Linked DNA regions of Homo sapiens: regions 1, 2 and 3 are each linked to region 4. Evidence: promoter capture Hi-C in human tissues and cell types (Jung and others, 2019). All regions are on one chromosome and are shown on one strand. The core of a region is centred on a gene start or on the middle of the fragment in contact, and the rest is flanking DNA. Distances in the headings are between cores, read along the strand shown.

Region 1 (2,700 bases), core at 15-2,514, 160 kb before region 4:
GCTATTTCTTACATTTTACAGGTGAGGAAACTGAGGCACAGACAGGCCACATATACACCTCGGCTTCCTCCTCGGGAAGAAACAGGGATGAAGGAGGAAGGAGGGGTTTCCTGAAACCATAGCCCAGCTCACACACCTGGACTTCCCCAACCCCAGAGCTCCCAACGCTGGGTCCAGGCTAGAATCTCCTAGAGATTCAGAGGCAGCACAGGGCAGGGTTCGAATCCTAGCCAACCCAACCCTAAAAATCTACAAATCTGAGGCCAGGTGCAGTGGCTCACATCTATAATCCAGCACCTTGGGGATCTGAGGCAGGAAGGTCACTTGAGGCCCACAGTTAAGACCAGCCTGGGCAACATATCAAAACCCCATATCTAGAAAAATGACAAAAATTAGCCAGGCATGCTGGCGGGTGCCTGTAGTCCCAGCTACTCGGGAGGCTGAGGTGGGAGGATTGCTTGAACTGGGGAGGTCGACATTGTAGCGAGCGGAGATCACACCACTGTACTCTAGCCTGGGTGACAAAGCGAGATCCTGTCTCTCAAAACAAGAAAAAAAGAAAAAGAAAAGACTACAAATCTGTCTGATTGTTGACTTCCAGAACCCTTCCAAATGCCAGCAGGTGGCATCTGGATGTCTGGGGGCACATCGTAGGTTTTCGGGTCCTGGAATTATTTTCAATATAGAGATGGAATCTCACTATGTTGCCCAGGCTGGTCTCAAACTCCTGGGTTCCAGCGATCCGCCCCCCTCGGCCTCTGGAAGTACAGGAGTGAGCCACTGCGCCGACCCCAGCTTCAGGAATCTTTGAACTCCCCGCAGAGAGCAGAGGTGCCGCAAGGTTTAACCTGCCTCCCTCCCTCCTTATCGCCATGGGCTTATCCAATCATTTCTTCACGGAACACACGTGGGCCAACGCTGACCGGGCTCTGTGCCAGGAACCCGCAAGGCGCTGCTTGTTCATCTCCAGCCACGGGGAGCTCATTCCCTAGCAGCGGGCCAGACCCAAGGTGGGGTCGTGAGCCCCGAGAGGGGCGAGGGTGGCAAGAGCGGGATGGCAGAGGTGGCAGCCGGGACCGGAGAGGGGAAGAGGCATGGCCGGGGAGGGAGGAGCCGGCAGAGAACTTCGCCTGGGCCACCAGGAAACTCAGCCGAGCTGGGAAGAGGGGGACTGGCAAGCGGCCAAGGCGGAGGGAGGCAGGAAGGCGTGAGGCCCGGTGGGAGGGAGGAAGCGGGAGAGGGGCGGGAGCTCTGGCTCAGGTAAAAACTCTTTCTTCGGCTCGCGAGCTGAGAGGAGCAGGTAGAGGGGCAGAGGCGGGACTGTCGTCTGGGGGTGAGTGTCGGCAGCCCCCGGAGGATCTGGCGGACCCCAGTGGTGGGGGTTTGGGGGTGGGGAAGTTGTGGCTCTGGAGAAGCCCCTGCCGGTCTCCACCGCGCATACCCTGCAGATGTGGGAACATTCGGGAGCCCCGAGTCTCGAGAACCCGGTTGCCCTCACCCATCCGTAATTGTCTCCGGCGTTCCCAAGGCCAGCTCGGACCTGGGTCGGGGAGGAAGCCTCCCCCACAGCTGGCGACCCGGGACCCCGGCGCCCCTCCCAGATTGGGCGGGATCAGACCCCCGAGGCGGATGCCGCTTAGTCAGACTTGGCTGTTACTGTTACCTGTGTTGTTGAGATTATTGGCCCCTTGGTTGGGAGTATCTGGGCAAGCCAGCGCTGGGGTCCCCGGTTGGGTTTGGGAACTGCAGGTGACCCCCAGTCTCTCCCTGCGGTTCCGGTGCTGCAGGCCCTGCCAGGTGGCTGGGCGGCATTCCAGGGGCCCTGGCTGCGTGGCATGGACACATTGCTGAACCGGCCTCAGTTTCCCCTCCGTGAGGTGGAACAATGAACCAGCTGGGATGAGGATGCCCGAAGCGTTTAGTCAAAGGAAATTTTTGTGATGAGGTGTACTGCTGGCCACTGGGGGCCCTTGCGTGACTGGCGTTAGGTCTCTGAGCCTCAGTTTCCCTGTGTGTTAAGGGGGGGTCTCATGGCATGGGACCTTGGCGAGGATGAGTTGAGTGGATAGGAGCTGTGGCCACTCAGTGGGTGCCCAGGGACAGTCAGCTGTCATCATAATTATATTAATTATGTCTGTAGCCACTGTTCAGATTCACTCCTGTTCCAAGAATCCCGACCATCTTTTCCTCTGGGTCAGATTTAAACTTTTTGTTTGTTTGTTTTATTTGTAGAGGTGGGGGACTCACTTTGTCACCCAGGCTGGAGTACAGTGGCTCCATGCACTGTATTCACTGCAGCCTCAACCTCCTGGGCTCAAGTGATCCTCCCACCTCAGCCTCCCGAGTAGCTGGGACTACAGGTGCACACCACAGGCAGCTAATTTTAAAATTTTTTTGTGTGTGGAGACGGGGTCTCACTATGTTGTCCAGGCTGGTCTCAAACTCCTGGGCCCAAGCAATCCTCCTGCCTTGGCATCTGAAAGTGCTGGGATTTCAGGCATGAGCCACTATGCCCAGCTCTGATTTTTTTAAATGGACACTTCTCAAGAGGAAACTGAGGTCGCCCCTCAACTTGGGCGGGGGACTCCTGCAGTCCAGATCTGGGATTCAGGGCCCATGGGAAGCCACCTGGCCGTCTAGGTCTGGGGCCAGCCCTGGGGGCCATCACTTCCTCCCACTGGCCTGTTCTCAAGGTGACAC
Region 2 (2,700 bases), core at 95-2,594, 220 kb after region 4:
GCCTTTGCCAACGGTTTGGTCGTCTGAGGGATGGGCTCGGGGACCATCCAGCCACTGGGACTTCAGAGAAGCTCCGGCTCCCAAACCAGCTACTGTGTGTGTGGCCAGGGTCTTCCCCACAACTAGAGGGGGGCACAGCTGGGGACTCAGGTATATCTTCCAGCTGGGTGTGGGACATTTTCTTCCCTAGGATCCGATGTGTCTTGCCCTGAATGTAAGGCCTGGCAGGGTTGGAATGTCTCAGTTATTCCCCCAACACTCCAGCCTCCATCTGGGCCTTTTTTCCAGGCTATTCTCTCTGCCTTCACTGTTGGGGCCACTGTCCTGTGTAGGCACCAAGGCCTGACCATGCCATCCAGAAGCCCCAGCCTGGGACAACTCTCCCCCACCTGCCTCTGAGCCCTCCATGGTGACTCTTGTTCCCCAAACCTTATCCTTCTCCCCATTACACAGAAGGGAAAGCTGAGGCTCTGTCACTCAAATCCAAAGCCAGGTGGACTCCAAGCCACCCCACCCCTATCCCAGACAGCACAGGCTGCCTCTCTCCCCCATGGGCGTCCCTTGAAGGCCAGGTTGCCCCCCACCCCCCACAAGCCTTGAACGATGAAAAGAAGGAAGGCCAGTTCTCTTCACCCCAAGCCAGAAGTGGGGCTGGGTGGGTACCCTAGAGAAATGACACGCCACTCCCTGCGCCAGCTTCTGCTTTCCGGCGTGGCTGTGGTCAAGCCTGAGTCAGTCCCACGGGACCACGGTGAGGGGTCTGGAGCGTCGGGGTCAGGAGTTTGAGGGGGGAAGGGTTGAGGGGCAGGATGTGGGGGTTGGGTGTGAGGGAGGTCACGGGCGAGACTGGAGGGAGGAGACCTGGCCACACAGGCCTTGCCCACTCTCGGGGGCCTGAATATTTCAGTTACTCCCCCAAAACCCCGGCCTCCATCCCATCCCCAGCCTCCATCCGACGTCACCCCTGTTAGGTCACAGGCCCACTCTGAGAGTGGGTCTCGGGCCTCAAGTCCCCTAGCCGCCCCTAGAAGGTCTAGGGGTGCGTGGAGACACCACCATTCCTCTCAGCCTGTGTCTGTCTCAAAGGCCCCACCTCACCTCCCCTAAAGGTAGTCTTGCGCCAGGGCTCACGTGCCTGGGCAGGGCTGATTGCCAAGGGGCCCAATGGCCTCGTGACTGGGGACCCAGCACCTGGCAGGGGTGGGGGTGGGACACTCAGAGGAAGGAGTGGAGGAGGGAGAGACGCTGGCCCGGGACCCGAGGGGCGTGGGCATCGGGAGGCGGGCCCGGGTTAGGGGCGGGACCGCCGCCTGGTTAAAGGCGCTTATTTCCCAGGCAGCCGCTGCAGTCGCCACACCTTTGCCCCTGCTGCGATGACCCTGTCGCCACTTCTGCTGTTCCTGCCACCGCTGCTGCTGCTGCTGGACGTCCCCACGGCGGCGGTGCAGGCGTCCCCTCTGCAAGCGTTAGACTTCTTTGGGAATGGGCCACCAGTTAACTACAAGGTAGGGACGGCGACAGGGCGGGCAGGCTGGAGGGAACAGGCGCCCTGTCGGGGCACGCGGCTCCTTCTTTCTCCCCAGACTTCACAGGGGAAGACCAGGGCCCCGAGGGGACGCTGTCCCTGCCGGGTTCCTGGAAAAACCCTGTTCAGTTCCCGGCGCTGCGGCCACACTCCCTCCGTGCCGTTTCGCTTTCGCATCCCGCATCTGAGAGGCGCAGCTGCCTCCACCCGCCTAGTCCCGCCCAAGGGTTCAATGAGCGCCTACTGTGTACTTTTGGGGCAGGAGCTGGGGTCTCCTTTTGTGGCCCAGGGCACAAGTTCAGCAGCTGGCCAAGGGCCGCCGGCATGCATTCTTGCTGCTACCCTTGATGCATTCATTCCAGCCAGGGCAGGGCTCGCGTGTCTTTGGGACCTATTAGGCAGATGCCCTAGAGGCTGAGCGACTTGCTCACCGCTCCAGCGACATGGGCCACCCGCCACCCCTCAGCTGAAGCCGGAAGTCAGCACCTATTAGGTGCCGCCTCTATTCAGTCGGACTTGGAAAGGGTTCACGTGGATCCCTTGCTCAGCTCAGAGGCAAGGTCTCCAGGTGAAGTGACAAGAAATGAGCATGGGCCAAGGCCGGAGGCGGTGGCTCATGCCTGTAATCCCAACACTTTGGAAGTCTGAGGCAGGCAGATCACGAGGTCAGGAGTTCGAGACCATTCTGGCCTACATGGAGAAACCCTGTCTCTACTAAAAATACAAAAATTAGCTGGGTGTGGTGGCATGTGCCTATAATCCCAGCTACTCAGGAGGCTGAGGCAGGACAATTGCTTGAACCAGGGAGTCGGGTGTTGCAGTGAGCCGAGATCGTGCCGCAGCACACCAGCCTAGCGACAGTGAGACTCCATCTCAAAAAAAAAAAAAAAAGTCTCAAAGTCAAGATTCCACCTGGCAAGTTCTGGAAGGCGTGCAAGATGAATTGCGTATCACAGCCCCCTTTCTACAAGACTACCAAGTGGGGTTGAGAGAAGTGGGGAACTGCCCAGGGCTACACCTGCCTCCCACGCCTTCCTAATCCACAGACAGGCAATCTATACCTGCGGGGGCCCCTGAAGAAGTCCAATGCACCGCTTGTCAATGTGACCCTCTACTATGAAGCACTGTGCGGTGGCTGCCGAGCCTTCCTGATCCGGGAGCTCTTCCCAACATGG
Region 3 (2,700 bases), core at 8-2,507, 200 kb after region 4:
AAAGCTTCCTCCAGACATCTGGGCCCTGAGCTATGTTTTTTATTTTTATGTTTTTGAGACAAGGTCTCGCTCTGTAACCCAGGTTGGAGTACAGTGGCGCAATCACGGCACATTGCAGCCTCGACCTCCTGGGCGCCCTGGGCTATGTTAATAAAATAAATAAGCGGCGGGGCGCGGTGGCTCACGCCTGTAATCCCAGCACTTTGGAAGGCCAAGGCGGGCGGATCTCCTGAGGTCGGGAGTTCCAAACCACCCTGACCAACATGGAGAAACCCCGTCTCTACTAAAAATACAAAATTAGCCGGGCGTGGTGGCGCATGCCTGTAATCCCAGCTGCTCGGGAGGCTGAGGCAGGAGAATCGCTTGAACTCGGGAGGTGGAGGTTGCGGCGAGCCGAGATAGCGCCATTGCACTCCAGCCTGGGCAACAAGAGCGAAACTCCGTCTCAAAAAATAATAACAAAATAAGCAATCGTCGCGTCCTTTCTATCCTGGTCTTAGCTTGCGCTCTGCCATAAAACTCCCTCTAGCCGAACCCGGCCCAGCCCTAGAGCAATCCGTTACTTCCGGGGCGCTCAGCCGGCATGCAAACACTCTTGGCTACAGCCCCATCTCCGAGTGCGTTCGGCTATTTCCGGAAACCGTCGGCATCTAGGCTCAAGTCCGCTAAATTCTAGTGCCCGTAGGGGTCGAGATCGTTGGCTGTTTCCGGACGCTCTGGGTTGCCATGGAAACTCCTTCAACCCTGGCTTTCTCCGACTTCTGCTTTTTGCGGCAGGCCCTTTCCCCACTCTACTGCCCCCTGTTTGCTGAGCTTGAGAACGCCTCATTTGTCCCCTGGAACCATCTATGCTTCAGTAATTCCCATAAGCTGGCGGTCGCCTCTGGGTCTAAACTCCCAAGGCCTCCATTGGGCACTGAGCACATTCGGTTATTTCCAGAAACGCTCCGCGGTCTTGGGGATCAGCCTCAGTTGTGCCAGTGCGGCCGTAGAGAGTGTTCGGCCATTTCCGAAAGCGCTCGGGCGTCTCTAAGCCCAGCCGAGCCCAGTCTCGGATCCCTCGCCGACCCGATTGCACTCGGCTACCTCTGGAAACGCTCGGCTGTCTCGGGGGCACCCTCTAGTCCACCAGTCCCGCGGGATTACGTTCGGCTACTTCCGGAAACACTCGGGTGCCCCCTTACCTCAGGCTCCGCCTCGGCCTCGGTTCATCCGCCCGGCTCGAATGCGCTCGGGCATTTCCGCCGGGGGCGGGCCAGGCCGCTCGGAACCGTGGCGGCGGCGGAGGCGGGGATCCCGCGGCTGCGGCGACGGTGGCCGCGGTGGAGCCACGGGGCGGGCTTGGCTTGGTGTGACGGCGGCTGCGGCGGCGGTGGCGGCCGCGACCAGGTGAGTCCTGACTGGCCCTCGTGGCGGGGGCGGCTGGGAGTGTGCTTAAATGCGGGGCGCCCGGGGGCAGTGCCGGGCCCCGGTGGAAGCCAGAACGCAAGCGCCAGGCTGCGTCGGGCCCCGCGGGAACTGGGGGGGCCGCAGGCAAGGGGGGGCCTCGGGCTCGGCTCCGCAGCGGTGCAGCCTCCTTGGGACGGTCGGGGCAGAATGGGGAGAGACTCCCCGCGTCCAAGATACCGGACTGGAGCCGAGGCCCCAAATGAAGGGAGGCCCTGCCTGGAATGGGGCTTCGAATAGTACCGAGGGGCGCCCAGGCATTGTGCGGGGCAGAATGGGGTGCGGGAGGGCCGGGGGTCGAACCCACTTCCGGTCCCCTAGCCGGGTGGCCGGGTCCACGCAGACCCAAGTGCGCGTCTGTGTGAGCGCTCAGGCCCTGCCTTCACCCGCGGAGCCCCCAGCCCTGCCTGCCCCGCCCCTCCCGCCTCCCGGATTCGGGGAGCGCTGCTCCCGGGGCGCGCACACCGGGGCGTGGGGGCGGGCTGGCAGGCAGATCCAGGCGGTTTTCTGGGCATCCCCTCTCGGGGCCTCAGTTTCCCCACCTGTAGAATGAGGGTAACAGAGGCCTAGGAATGGGTAAATTGGGCACCCGAGAATGTGGCGCCCCTCCGCCCTGCTCGGACACCTCTTGGGGTTCCCCGTGACTGAAGGATGCTCAGAGCCTCCACCTGACACTCGGGCCTCTTGGTGGATAGCACCTATCCTTATAGCCACCCTGAATCCTTGACAAGCAACTTAACCCACTGCCAAGGCTTTGCATGTGCCGTTCCGTCTGCCTGTCGCGCCTTCCTATCCGCTGTGATGATCCATTCTCTAGAACAGCACGTCCATCCCCCGACCCTAGCCCTGTCCATCACAGGGCGTCTGAACCCGCAGGGCTAGGCTGGGAATGTGTGCCTATCTCCGCCTCCCCAGGCTGGGACTCCTGGGGAATAATCAATGCCCTGCTGCCGGCAGCCTCCCCTCCTCCTCAGCTGCAGTACCCCCACCTTCTCCTGGCTCCCTGTCCCTGCCTGGGGCTAAGGTTCCTTCTAAGCACCTCCCCATCTGCATTTTGTGCCTACTCTGGGCCCCAGGCTGGAGCTACCTGCCAGCCCACTCACTCCTCCTCTGCAGAGACTGGAGGTCCATTTGCTTGGACTCACCTCGAGGCCTTTGCTTGTGTAGAGGCCTCTTCCTGGACTTTGTTCCCTACCTCTTAGTTCAGCTGGCCTGACCCCTCTATGGAGCTCCCAAAGCACCCGGAGTGGCCTC
Region 4 (2,700 bases), core at 24-2,523:
CCAGGTGTAGTGGTGCACACTTGTAGTCCAAGCTACTTGGGGGCCGAAGGTGGGAGGATCGCTTGAGCCCGGGAAGTCAAGGCTGCAGTGAGCCATGTTCATGCGACTGCACTCCAGCCTGGGTGACAAAATGTCACCTCCCTGAATGTCACCCACCTAGATCTCCCCATGGCGAAGGAACTAGGGGCAATGTGAGGGGGTGAGCAGGAACAGCATTGGGAAAGACAGATAAAGCATTCAGTGTCTAGCTTCTGGAGCCCAGTGAAAGGAGGAGTGGCCTTAGGGAGGGGACATGGAAGAGGTGGGGCTAGCCCAGGGCCCCATTGGAGTGATAAAGCCACTGTTCTTAAGCTTCCTGAAAGCTTAGGAGATGACCCAGCTCAGCAACACCAAGCCAGAGCGCAGATCTGCTGTAAAGACCATTGTACGTAATAGGCTGAAGCAGGTGAATCACCTCTGGCCAGGAGTTCAAGTCCAGCCTGGCCAACACAGCAAAACCCCATCTCTACTAAAAATACAAAAAGTAGCCGGGCATGGTGGCAGGCACCTGTAATCCCAGATGCTTGGGAGGCTGAGGCAGGAGAATTGTTTGAACCCTGGAGGCGGCAGTTGCAGTGAGCTGAGATCACATCACTACACTCCAGCCTGGGTGACAGAGCAAGACTCTGTCTCAAAAAAATAAAAAATAAGAAAGACCACTGTAGTCCGGGAGCTGTCTGCACCCTACTCTTTTGGGTCCCCGCCTCCACCCCGCACCCCCTGTCTGATCATTACAGATCTCAAAGGGACAGGAAAGGCAGCAGCAGCCACCCTCTCTCCCAGTCAAGTGGTCACCAGCAGGACTGAAGGGGACAGCCCCTTTGCAGTGGCTCGGCGAGGAGACCCCTGCACCCTAGGGTGAGTGAATCCCAGACTTGGGTCGCCTTTGGGGGTGGGGGTGGCTCAGGGGTTGGATAGAAAAATTGGTAACTGGGCAGGCTAGGTGGCTCACGCCTGTAATCCCAGCACTTTGGGAGGCTGAGGCAGGTGGATCACTTGAGGTCAGGAGTTTGAGGCCAGTTTGGCCGACATGGCGAAACCCCGTGTCTACTAAAAATACAAAAATTGCCCGGGGATGGTGGTGGGCACCTGCAATCCTAGCTACTTGGGAGGCTGAGGCAGGAGGACCACTTGAATCCGGGAGGCAGAGGTTGCAGTGAGCCAAGATCGCGCCACTGCACTCCAGCCTGGGCGACAGAGCAAAGCTCTGTTTCAAAAAAAAAAAAAAAAAGGTGACCTGAGGAAAAAGTGCCAGCTTTTGAAATAATAACAAGCTGGGTACAGTGGCGTGCACCTGTGGTCCTAGCTACTCGGAAGGCTAAGGTGGGAGTATCGAGTCCAGGAGTTCGAGGCTGCAGTGAGCTATGATCACGCTTGTGAATGGCCACTGCACTCCAGCCTAGGCGACAGAGCGAGACCCCCATCTCTTTAATTAAAAAAAAAAAAAAGAAAAAAGGCCAGACGTGGTGGCTTACGCTTGTAATCCCAGCACTTTGGGAGGCCAAGGCAGGCAGATCACCTGAGGTCAGGAGTTCGAGACCAGCCTGGCCAACAGGGTGAAACCCCCATCTCTACTAAAAATACAAAATTAGCCAGGCATGGTGCTGCATGCCTGTAATCCCAGCTACTTGGGAGGCTAAGGCAGGAGAATCACTTGAACCCAGGAGGCGGAAGTTGCAGTGAGCCGAGATTGTGCCATTGCACTCCAGCCTGGGCAACAAGAGTGAAACTCCATCTCCAAAAAAAAAAAAAAAAAGAAAGAAAGAAAAAAAATAATAATATAATTATTATTATATCATATATATCATGATGATGATAGCAAGGACTATGCTTTCTAGAGCCTCCGGGGAGTTACTGTCCACTTTCTTTGATCACTGGAGTTGGGGAAACTATTCAGAGAGGCCAGATGACCTAGAAGTGGGGTGTTGAGCCAGGTTGGAAGAGCTCTGTCCCACCACTCCCGCCCCCGCCCCCCACACACAGCCTCTACTTCCCGGCTCTCGTGGTCTCGCTGGAGACAGCCCCCAGGGTAGGCCAGCTCTGTGGAAGGCAGCTCCTGTGCTCCTTTCTCCAGTGAACTTTTTTTTTTTAGTTTTGTTTTGTTTTGTTTTGTTTGTTTGTTTTGAGACAGAGTCTGACTCTGTCGCCCAGGCTGGAGCGCAGTGGCATGATCTTGGCTCACTGCAACCTCCACCCTCCACCCCACCGGGTTCAAGCGATTCTCCTGCTTCAGCCTCCCAAGTAGCTGGGATTACAGGCATGCGTCACCACGCACAGCTAATTTTTGTGTTTTCAGTAGAGATGGGGTTTCCCCATGTTGGCCGGGCTGGTCTCGAACTCCTGACCTCAGGTGATCCACCTGTCTTGGCCTCCCAAAGTGCTGGGATTGCAGGCGTGAGCCACTGAGCCAGGCCTCCTTGGTGAACACTGACTGACATCCAGGGTCAGCACTAAGCTGCCCATGGGGGTGTGGAGAAAACAGAGGTGGTGGTCATTTAGTCAATCAACAAACACTGAGCAAGCTAGCTACTGTCTGCCAGGCCCTAGGCTGGATGCTGGGATGCAATAAGGACAAAGGCCAGCCCAGGTCAGCCCTTGTGGAATTTCATGGGGCATCAATTAAGCTTAAGTGTTTTGTGCTGGATACAGTGGCTGATGCCT

What was found. Contacts are between HindIII fragments. The study calls those that stand out against the background at their distance.
Region 1: a contact is called between the fragment with the promoter of B3GNT3 here and a fragment that was not itself captured in region 4, in 1 of the 25 tissues and cell types used here (IMR-90 fibroblasts).
Region 2: a contact is called between the fragment with the promoter of IFI30 here and a fragment that was not itself captured in region 4, in 1 of the 25 tissues and cell types used here (dorsolateral prefrontal cortex).
Region 3: a contact is called between the fragment with the promoter of PIK3R2 here and a fragment that was not itself captured in region 4, in 4 of the 25 tissues and cell types used here (dorsolateral prefrontal cortex, lymphoblastoid cells, pancreas and 1 more).

The regions. Positions count from the first base shown.
Region 1 is chr19:17,793,874-17,796,573 of GRCh38, forward strand. B3GNT3 (UDP-GlcNAc:betaGal beta-1,3-N-acetylglucosaminyltransferase 3) reads left to right here and starts at 1,265. Exons shown (of 3, transcript NM_014256.4): 1 at 1,265-1,333. RefSeq lists enhancers at 463-1,160, 1,161-1,858. The HindIII fragment of the contact is 34,117 bases long and covers 1-2,700 here.
Region 2 is chr19:18,172,469-18,175,168 of GRCh38, forward strand. IFI30 (IFI30 lysosomal thiol reductase) reads left to right here and starts at 1,345. Exons shown (of 7, transcript NM_006332.5): 1 at 1,345-1,505; 2 at 2,572-2,700. The coding sequence starts at 1,374. RefSeq lists a silencer at 1,090-1,399 and enhancers at 1,710-1,779, 1,907-2,572. The HindIII fragment of the contact is 16,563 bases long and covers 1-2,700 here.
Region 3 is chr19:18,151,906-18,154,605 of GRCh38, forward strand. PIK3R2 (phosphoinositide-3-kinase regulatory subunit 2) reads left to right here and starts at 1,258. Exons shown (of 16, transcript NM_005027.4): 1 at 1,258-1,389. RefSeq lists enhancers at 9-88, 631-1,523, 829-1,108 and silencers at 1,219-1,598, 1,909-2,128. The HindIII fragment of the contact is 11,749 bases long and covers 1-2,700 here.
Region 4 is chr19:17,953,785-17,956,484 of GRCh38, forward strand. It overlaps a transcript of KCNN1 not described here. Among named protein-coding and RNA genes, the nearest start is that of KCNN1, 12 kb to the right of the region's middle. The HindIII fragment of the contact is 4,437 bases long and covers 1-2,700 here.